Linked DNA regions of Homo sapiens: region 1 is linked to region 2. Evidence: promoter capture Hi-C in 16 types of primary human blood cells and fetal thymus (Javierre and others, 2016). All regions are on one chromosome and are shown on one strand. The core of a region is centred on a gene start or on the middle of the fragment in contact, and the rest is flanking DNA. Distances in the headings are between cores, read along the strand shown. Region 1 overlaps EIPR1 (EARP complex and GARP complex interacting protein 1). Region 2 holds the start of CMPK2 (cytidine/uridine monophosphate kinase 2).

Region 1 (4,929 bases), core at 1,488-3,987, 3.6 Mb after region 2:
CCAACAAGCTTCCTGAAAATTGTGAGCTTTCAGGCCACGTGCAGACCTCAAGATACTGAGTCAGCCCTTGGTTGACTCTCAGCTCTGCCATTTATAGCTTTTTAATTTGGGGCTGGTCACTCATCTTTCTGTGTTTGTTACCTCATCTGTACAATAAGGAAGAGCGTAGGAGTCACCTCCTAGGCTCACAGTCAGTGTGAGAAGGAGAATGCTGTCCAGGTAGCCCAGGGCCTGCACCGAGCAGACGCCTTGGGTGCCACCTACAGTGAAGCTGGCCCTCTGGGATCCTGTCCTGAAATGGTACCTGGCCTGCCTGGTCTTGCCCACGATTGCGTCCCTTCTGTTCCCTGGCCCGAGTTGTGTCCTGCCCTGGCCCTGTAGTCACCTTTCTCAGGTGTGGTTTTCAGCCAGGTCCTTGGGCATTGCTCACAGATCCCCATGTCCTCCTCCTGAGTGAAGTCATCACCTGGGCTGAGCTCTCATGGCTGTCATCAGTCCCAGCCTCTGCTCATGTCCCTGGGCCAGGCAGCGAGGGACAAGGATGAGGACTGGGATTTGTTCCTGACTTGCCAGAGATGCCATGTTGGCCAGGTTCCTTAACAGAACTCTCTGAGCCCAGTTTCCCATCTTTAATCATTGTTTTCCTGCGCAGTTCATGCTTTTTCCCACATATTCTTGGTGGATATAACAGTATTCTGTAGACTTTAACATACAGTACACGTACGGCGATGTCATGACAGCCTCCCTGCCTCACAGGGTTGTTCAGTTCTGTGCTGCGGGCTGTGACTGTTCATTTCTAGGTGGCGGGAGAGTGGTGTGGTGCCAGCACCTTCATGCATGTGGAGGCGCTCTTAGCATGTCAACAGGAGTGCCCGGGTGTTGATGTTGCTCTTACCGTGATTACTAGTGCCCATTTGGCAAAACCCACTTTTCTCCACCTAAGTCCTGCTCCGAGGGTCTCACTGGGAGGGAGAGCTGTCGTAAAGCTCCAGCTTTCATGCAGAGCTTAGGATGCAATGGTCAGGTGATGGGTGCTAATTTGGGGCATTCTTTACCTCTGGACCAAGTGCTGACATGGGTCAATAAATACCAGGAAATCTGATTAATAACAAGGAATTATTGCTCAAAGAAAAGGATTTTGATGTCCTTTCTGGTAATTTTGTTCATTTGTATTATGTGATAAGCCTTTAAAATCCTGCATTCTATAATAAATGTGTGGAATCTTAAAATAAGTTTGGCAAAAACTTAGAGTTGAATTAAGTTCATTTGAGACTTCTTCAAAGAGCTGTAATTGCAGGGGCACCACAAGGTTTCCACGCTTGTCGGGTGCTTTGAAAAATTAGGCAGTGCTGTAGCGTGGACCTGAAGGACCTGGCCCACTTGAGCACTTGCCAGTCACCTTGGGAAGTCGCTGAGAGCTCTGGCTATTGGGGGGTGTGTGTGTGTGTGCGCGCACGCGTGTGTGTGTGTGTGTGCGCACCCGCATGCACACATGTTTGTGTTTCTAAAGGAAACCTTTGGTAACACAGAAGCCACCCACTGCTGTGCAGATGGTCATAGCTCTTATTCTTCAGATGAAGGCCGGTTGAGGCCAAGAAGAGGGAGGAGCTGAGGGGATGTGACCTATTCCTGTGGCTCCATGTCGGCGTCACCTTTTTAAGTCATTTGTAGCACTCATCTGGCTCATACATCTTTGAAGAGGGTAGTGAGTGAATAACAGGTAAGCAGCCATCAGAGGTTGTCATTTTCTTTTTCCTTTTCAATTTGCATCTTCCAGAGTTTTTGATGTGCAAGTTTGCATGTTAGTCTGAAACTGTTCTAACTTGCCGGTGGAAAACACACACAGACTTAAAAGGCAGGATAATTACCTTGCTGAAATTCTTTTCTCACCTTTTATGAAAGAGAAAGCTATTTTCTTGAGGAGTCAAGTTCCTATCCCAGCAAGGAAAAACTGATGACAGATTAGGGATGTGGCCACAGGCCCGGGACCAGCTGGTTAGCTAAACTCTCTGGAGTGTCTTTTGGAGGCCATGGCCTTGTGACCTCAGAGATGAACACTTACTTCAAAGCACAGGATTTTGACACTCAAGAGAGCAGGTCTCTTGTGCAAAGTAGGAGCATCTTCCAGTGCAAGGGCAGGGCTTGGAGAGAGACTGCAGAGGCTTCCGCGGAGTGGGGCTCAGTTTTGTGAATGCTGCCGCTTGTAATTCAACAGCGTCCCGCACTTTTACAGTGTGTGCTGTAGTGACGCAGGGGCTGCAGGGGACCCCAACAGGAGTGAGGGATGAGACTTTCTTTTTCCCCTTCTATCAGGGTGTTGACCGCCACGGCCCTGGGCTCTGGCAGCCTGGGTCTGGTCTTATTTATTGTGCATTCACCATGTTGGGCCTCCCCAGTGTGGAGCGTCGTGACACAGGGCCCTGGCTGCCGGAGCCTCGATGCGATGTCCTCCCACGTGGGTGTCCCCAGCCGACACGGAGAACTCCTGCCTGCTCTTGGGGACTCTTGCCTGTTGTTAAAGATGGAAAAGGTAGAGAAACAAGAAGGAATTCTGAGTGGTTCAGTCAGACATGTTTAAAGCAAAAAGTTGGCTTTTCAGTTTCAGAATTTAAGCATGCGATGTATTAGGTATTTTCAGCCAGTGACATTGAGCGACACAAACCACAATTTATTGGTAAAAAAAACAGCAAAATACAAGACATGCCAAACACATGTGCCCTCATTCCTGCAAGTTTTTTGTTTTGTTTCATTTTTAATTCTAGCAGTAATATGGATCCACACCACGCCCTCACTCTGTGGCCCTGGGCCTAATCCAGCCTGCTGCCTGCTTGTGTAAATAAAGTTCTGTTGGATCCTGGCTGCTACCCTTTGGTCATATATTGTCTGTAGCCACTTTTATGTTACAGTGACAGAGCTGAGTAGCTCAGAAGCCTGACCTGGCCCACAAAACTGAAAATACTTGTCATTGAGCCCCTTATAGAGAAAGCCTGACACCTGCTCAGGGTGCTGAGAACTTTGACTCCTATCTTTGAGATTTTTAAAGTTCTAAGGGAAAAGTAAGTAACTTCTCTATTGCTGTAATTCTTCACCCACTTAGGCCTCAGCTCACTGGACATTTTACCCAGATGGAACTTTGATGAAGAACAAGTCAACAGACTTTCCTTTGAAGGCTCCTTAGCTTGACTTCCAAAATAGATGCAATGAATGAAGAAGCAATTCACAGATGTGTGAGAAGCAGCCAGTACACACTTGACGGGTGGACAAACTTCCTAGTTGTTAGAAAACGCAGATTAAAGCAGCGAAGACATACCCTGTGAGGTTGGCTTGGGGAAGGGATCAGCACGGTCATTATCACAGTTACGGCTGGGATCCAGTGTCCCTGAGAATGCCGGGGGAAATGCACATTCTAGGAAGACAATTTGGGAAACATGTCTGTGTTTTGGCCCAGCAATTATAGCTCTAAGCACTTACCCTAAAGTGTGCCAAGAAGTCTTTCTCCAGGATACTTACTGCTTCATTGTATGAATCAATTGTGTGAAAAATTGGAAACAACTGAAGTGGCATACATGGGAATTGGATTAAAAAATTATGGAAATTCACACGATAGAATTCTGTGTGCCCTTTGGAAAGAATTATATCTATTTGATATGGAAAGTTACCCAGGATATATTTTAAGTTAAAAAAAAAAGCAAGTTGCAGAATAACATTAATAGCCTGATCACATGTTTGTAAGTAATGATTATGATTGTATTATACATACCACTGTATGCATAGAAAAGACCTGGAAAGCTGCATATCAATCACTTATTAACAGTAGTTATCATCTGTGGGTGGGAGTATGAGAGACTTCTACTTTTCTAAAGTTTTAAACTTTTTAATGGGCATATATGACTTTGCGTTTACAGTGTAAAGTAATACAGCTTAACGTGAGACTTCGCAAAGGCAAGAGGCTTCTTGTGTTTTACTCAGAGGAGAACTTCTTTAATGCCCACTTAGGGCTATTTATTATTTTGTTAGCAAAACTCGTTACATCTAAGTGTATGTGCTTTTCAGGGTGGTTGAGAGAGGAGAGAAGCCAGTGCAGACAGGGACACACACAGAAACAGAGACGGAGTAGATAACCATCCACGGGGCTGCTGACTAAATTTTCATAAAAGCAAACCCTATTCAGGCCTATTCAACATGGGGGAACCGGCTCTCTCCCCTGAGAGGAGAGTGAGTGTGATGCTGTCCTAACAGTGTTGAAATGGGTCATAACTGGCCTGTGCTCAGTGAAGCAGGCAAAAGACGGATGATGCACCTCAACGTAAATTCTAGCCAAAAAGCCTAAAATAACTAAAAAGAGACCAACATTGAAACAGGAGATCAAAAAATATCTTAAGGCAAATGAAAATGGAGCCACAACATACCAAAATGATGGGATGCAGCAAAAGCAGGTCTAAGAAGGAATTTAATAGCAATAAATGCCTACATGAAGAAAAAAAGAAAGATCTCAAATAATCAACTCAACTTTATACATCAGGGACTAGAGGAAGGAACAAACTAGGCCCAAAGTTAGCAGAAGGAAGGAAATAACAAAACCCAGAGCAGAAATATATGAAATAGACATGAGAAAAGCAATTGAAATATCAAAACTTAGAGCTGCTTTTCGAAAAGATAAAGAAGTTGACAAGCCTTTAGTGAGGCTAAAGAAAGTGAGAAAACACAAACAAAATCAGAAATAAGAGACAATATAAATGGTTCCACAGAAATACAAAGGATCATAAGAGACTACTGTGAACAATTATGCGTAAACAAATTGGATAACCTAGAAGAAATAGAGGAAACATACAACCTACCAAGACTGAATAAAGACGAAATAGAAAATCTGAATAAATCAACAATGAGTAGAGATTAAATCAGTAATCAAAAATCTCCCAACAAAGAAAA
Region 2 (4,406 bases), core at 1,261-3,760:
TTTGGGTATCCTTTTGAACTTGTGGTTCTATCATCTCATTTATTCCTATTCTGATTTGCATTTTCTTTCTTTTTCCAATTGAATTAAACTACCTAGAAACATATCTGTTTAAACATGTTTTCAAAAACTAAGCTCTTTTTCAAAGTGTTATTTTTTCATTTTATTATTTATTAATTGCTATTTATATTTTTAATTCTCCCATTCTGTTTCTTTTTTTCTTAGGAGCAGAATGGCTAGAAAAGTTTCATTTTCTCTTGTTTAATACTGTAAGTGTTGAAGATTATGGCTTTTCCTATGATATAGCTGTGCTGTTCATTCATTTAAAGACACCTCTTTGAAGTATCTTCCCAGCCTGCAGCTTCTCTCCTTTCCACCTGCAACGATGGGTGGCTACAGGCATGTTTAGTCAATATAAACATCCAGCTGTGGCTCTCAGAGTCTCTGTCCTACAAATTTGAAGGGGCTTGAAAATCTAACAGAAATTTTTATTTATGAATGAAGATATATCTTCAACATCTTCAACACTTATATAATATTGACTAAGCCCAAATACTGCAGTGTTATTAACTTTACATCTCTTCGTAGGGCGAAGGTAGGTGAAAAATAGAGAGGAAAACTTAAATTAAAAAAGGTAAGATGCTTCATTTAGCAAACTGTGTGTCAGGTTTTCTTTCAGTTGGAGGCTCAGAGAAAAGTTAGGAAGAAGCTGGTCTTCCTACTTACCCTCAAGGTGCTCAGTGGTGGGAAATAGACTGGCACGTGACTGTGGAGTGTCAAGGTCCGAGGATACAAATAGCCTTGGTGGGGGACACAGGAGAGGCTACTAACCCAGATATGTGGGGGGTTATAGGCTATATCATGTCCCCCAAAATTCATGCTCAGGCCTAGCCCCCAGTGCCTCACAGTATGACTGTATTTCAAAATAAGGCTTTCAATAGGTGATTACATTAAAATGAGAACATTATGATGGGCCCTAACCCAATCTGACTGGTGTCCTTCCCAGAAGAGGAAATTTGGAACTTCAAGGAGACGCCAAGGATGCAAGCACAAAGGAAAGGTCCCGTGAGAACACAGAGAGAAGGAGGCGGTCTGCACGCTAGAAAGAGAGGCCTCAGAAAAAGCAAACCCTGCTGGCAACTTGATCTCCAGCTTCTCTGGCCACCTGAACTTTGAGAAAACAAATTTTCTATTGTTTAGGCGGCCCAGTCCGTGGTATTTTGTTATGGCAGCCAGGATAGACTAATACATCCAGAGAGGTGGATGGCATAGGGAAAAGGTCAAGCAGGCTTGAGGATGCAGTACTGTCTTAGAGAAGAAAAGGGAGTAACTAGAAGACTCTTACTTCCATATACTACATACACGTGAAACCACCGGTACATGCTAAATGTCCAAAAGTGAAATTCCTGAGAAAGAATAAAAACTATTCTATTCTCAAAGAGCTAAAAAATTTTAAACTCCTAATTCTTCTTTCTTCTTAGCCTATTAACCCACACTCCAACCACCTATCTATATTTCACGTTTGTTAAGACTTTTTTTTTCAGAATTAAATATAATCCCAAGTTTAAGTCCAATACTATTAAGACATAAAAAAAAAACTGCTTTCAGCTCATCTAATGTTTTCAATCTTCGTCTCAATTCTATTTTTTTGAGAGAGTTTCCCTGGAGAATATTATCTTTTTGTTTGTTTTTGGTTTGCTTGACATCATTTTTAAAAGGCATCAGTTAATGAGTAAACACAGAATAAAATATCCAAATAACTGCGCAAACACTGTTACACTGTTAGGCAGTTACACTGTTAGGCAGCAACAGTGCTGATGCTGGACTGTGGCAGGCAGAGGGTGCTATCCTGACACACTTCACCTTAGTGCAGGAAACTTCAATTTGGTGGAAGAAAGGCGATTTCGAGGTGCCAATCTGGGCGACACTTCCCAGTTGGAGAGTCAGCAAAAGGGAGAGGGCAATTCCAAGAAGAGGGAAAAGCTTGTGCACAGGTGAGTGTGTGCAAAGGTGAGTGTGTGCACAGGTGAGTGAGTGCACAGGTGAGATAAGATACAGGAGAGGGAAGAGCCAGAACTGCGCCCTGTTCCCGCAGGAAAGCAGCTCTGCAGGATTAGAGGGGCGGGGACGCGTGGTCAGAGCTAGGAGTTGAGGTCGGGGAGGGAGCCCATGGTCTGCAGGGCCTGGTCAGTCATCCAAGGGCAGTAGTGCGCCTGCAAGTGGGCGTTGAAGAGCCCGTTACACCGGGAAGGGACTTCTCTGTCCCTCGCGCGTGCACCCCCGCCCCCCTCCATGCACCCGGCATAAGCCGCAGAGGAGGAACTCAAACCAGGGTCGGGGCCGCCAGCCACCCGCAGAACGCACACGGAGCTACCTTGGGGCCGACGGCGCGGGGCCTCATTCGGTGTCAGCCCCGGGAGCCGGCGCCTGGGGACCGCGCAGGCCCGCGGAGCCGCGCACCTGGGGCCCCGGGGCCAAGCGTCTGCTCCCGAGCGCCGGCCGTTTATCGCGCACATCTCGCGGCGAGGAGGAGAGGCCGGAAGGGCGCCCCAGCCCCAGGGCTCCTGCCCCGCCTGGGCCTCCGGCTTTCGTTTCCCCGCAACGCTTCGCTTTCGTTTCCCGCTGGCGCCTGGCTCCCTCCGGGTTTCGTTTCCCGCCGGCGCCTGGCTCCCGCCAGGTTTCGTTTCCGAGGCGGGGCCGAGGGCGGCGTCGCTGAGGCGCCCATGGCCTTCGCCCGCCGGCTCCTGCGCGGGCCACTGTCGGGGCCGCTGCTCGGGCGGCGCGGGGTCTGCGCTGGGGCCATGGCTCCGCCGCGCCGCTTCGTCCTGGAGCTTCCCGACTGCACCCTGGCTCACTTCGCCCTAGGCGCCGACGCCCCCGGCGACGCAGACGCCCCCGACCCCCGCCTGGCGGCGCTGCTGGGGCCCCCGGAGCGCAGCTACTCGCTGTGCGTGCCCGTGACCCCGGACGCCGGCTGCGGGGCCCGGGTCCGGGCGGCGCGGCTGCACCAGCGCCTGCTGCACCAGCTGCGCCGCGGCCCCTTCCAGCGGTGCCAGCTGCTCAGGCTGCTCTGCTACTGCCCGGGCGGCCAGGCCGGCGGCGCACAGCAAGGCTTCCTGCTGCGCGACCCCCTGGATGACCCTGACACCCGGCAAGCGCTGCTCGAGCTGCTGGGCGCCTGTCAGGAGGCACCACGCCCGCACTTGGGCGAGTTCGAGGCCGACCCGCGCGGCCAGCTGTGGCAGCGCCTCTGGGAGGTGCAAGACGGCAGGCGGCTGCAGGTGGGCTGCGCACAGGTCGTGCCCGTCCCGGAGCCCCCGCTGCACCCGGTGGTGCCAGACTTGCCCAGTTCCGTGGTCTTCCCGGACCGGGAAGCCGCCCGGGCCGTTTTGGAGGAGGTAAGAGTTCTGTCCGCTTCCAGCTCCCAGCGTGGCATCTGAACCCTTCAGACCAGAGAACTGGACCAAGAGGCTGGTCTGTAGAGCCGGTTCTTGCCTGGGTGGTTTGTTTATTTCCGTTCACAAATCAGGTAGGGAAGGTGTCCTGTATGCCAGGCAACTCTTTTAAGATTCTTGTTTGCAAGGATCTTCCAACCTGACGTGGAACATAGACCTACACCAAGCCACGCGATGCTTGCTGTAAAAGCATCCCAACAGCAGTACAGAGGGAGTAAAGGGGCTGCCGGGAGTGAGGGAAAATAATGTCAGCTGGGAAGTAATTTTATTTGCTGATGATCACCATTCAAGGATCTTGGGGTGAAAAAGAAAATGCATGAGTTTAGGGGGTTTAAGAAATTTAGACTTAAATAGTGTTTACCTACCGACTGGCCATGAACCTTGTGCAGGTTACTCAACTACTCTAAGTTTTGCCCTTTGACATGTACAATTCCCATCTTGCGATGTTGTCCTGATTAAGGAAACATCTGACTCACAGCAGGTACCCACAGAAAGAGACTGAAAATTCTTTCTGATCGCAGGCTAGGCAGATGTCCTCCTGTGACACAGATGAGCCCTGAGGATGCCCCCATGGATCTTGGGAATATTTTCCAAGCTTACGGGACAGCGTTGTGGAGCAGTTAAGAGCGCAAGGTCAACCACGTGTATTTAAATTTAAACTCTGGCATTTATTAGCTGTGTCACTTTGAGCAAGTTTCTTCAACTCTCTGCCTCAGTTTCCTTAATTCATATGGTGGGAATAATAATAGCACCCCCCCACCCCAGTTCACAGAGATTGGCAACTGAATACTTGTAAAGCACTTAGAAGATTGCCATGCTCAGAGCAAGCACATAAGTGTCTGAGCCTCGCTCTGAGATGCTGTGAGCGTGCAGTGAGATAATGCACATTGAGGAACTGGGAATTCCCAGGGGGACGCTGCTCTGCCAGCTTCATGATTGCAGTGCTTGGCTGTT

The links. The method cuts DNA at HindIII sites, captures the fragments that hold promoters and counts their contacts. A CHiCAGO score of 5 or more calls a contact.
Region 1: a fragment that was not itself captured here is called in contact with the fragment with the promoter of CMPK2 in region 2 in 1 of 17 cell types (M0 macrophages); the score reaches 8.1 in M0 macrophages.

Annotation. Positions count from the first base shown.
Region 1 is chr2:3,231,969-3,236,897 of GRCh38, reverse strand. The region is part of intron 4 of EIPR1 (EARP complex and GARP complex interacting protein 1); the gene reads left to right. Among named protein-coding and RNA genes, the nearest start is that of LINC01250, 110 kb to the right of the region's middle. RefSeq lists an enhancer at 1,617-2,816. The HindIII fragment of the contact is 5,453 bases long and covers 11-4,929 here.
Region 2 is chr2:6,864,011-6,868,416 of GRCh38, reverse strand. It overlaps CMPK2 (cytidine/uridine monophosphate kinase 2), which reads left to right and starts at 2,510. Exons shown (of 5, transcript NM_207315.4): 1 at 2,510-3,395. The coding sequence starts at 2,721. It also overlaps a transcript of RSAD2 not described here. RefSeq lists silencers at 2,250-2,519, 2,760-3,199 and an enhancer at 2,520-2,739. The HindIII fragment of the contact is 2,067 bases long and covers 1,983-4,049 here.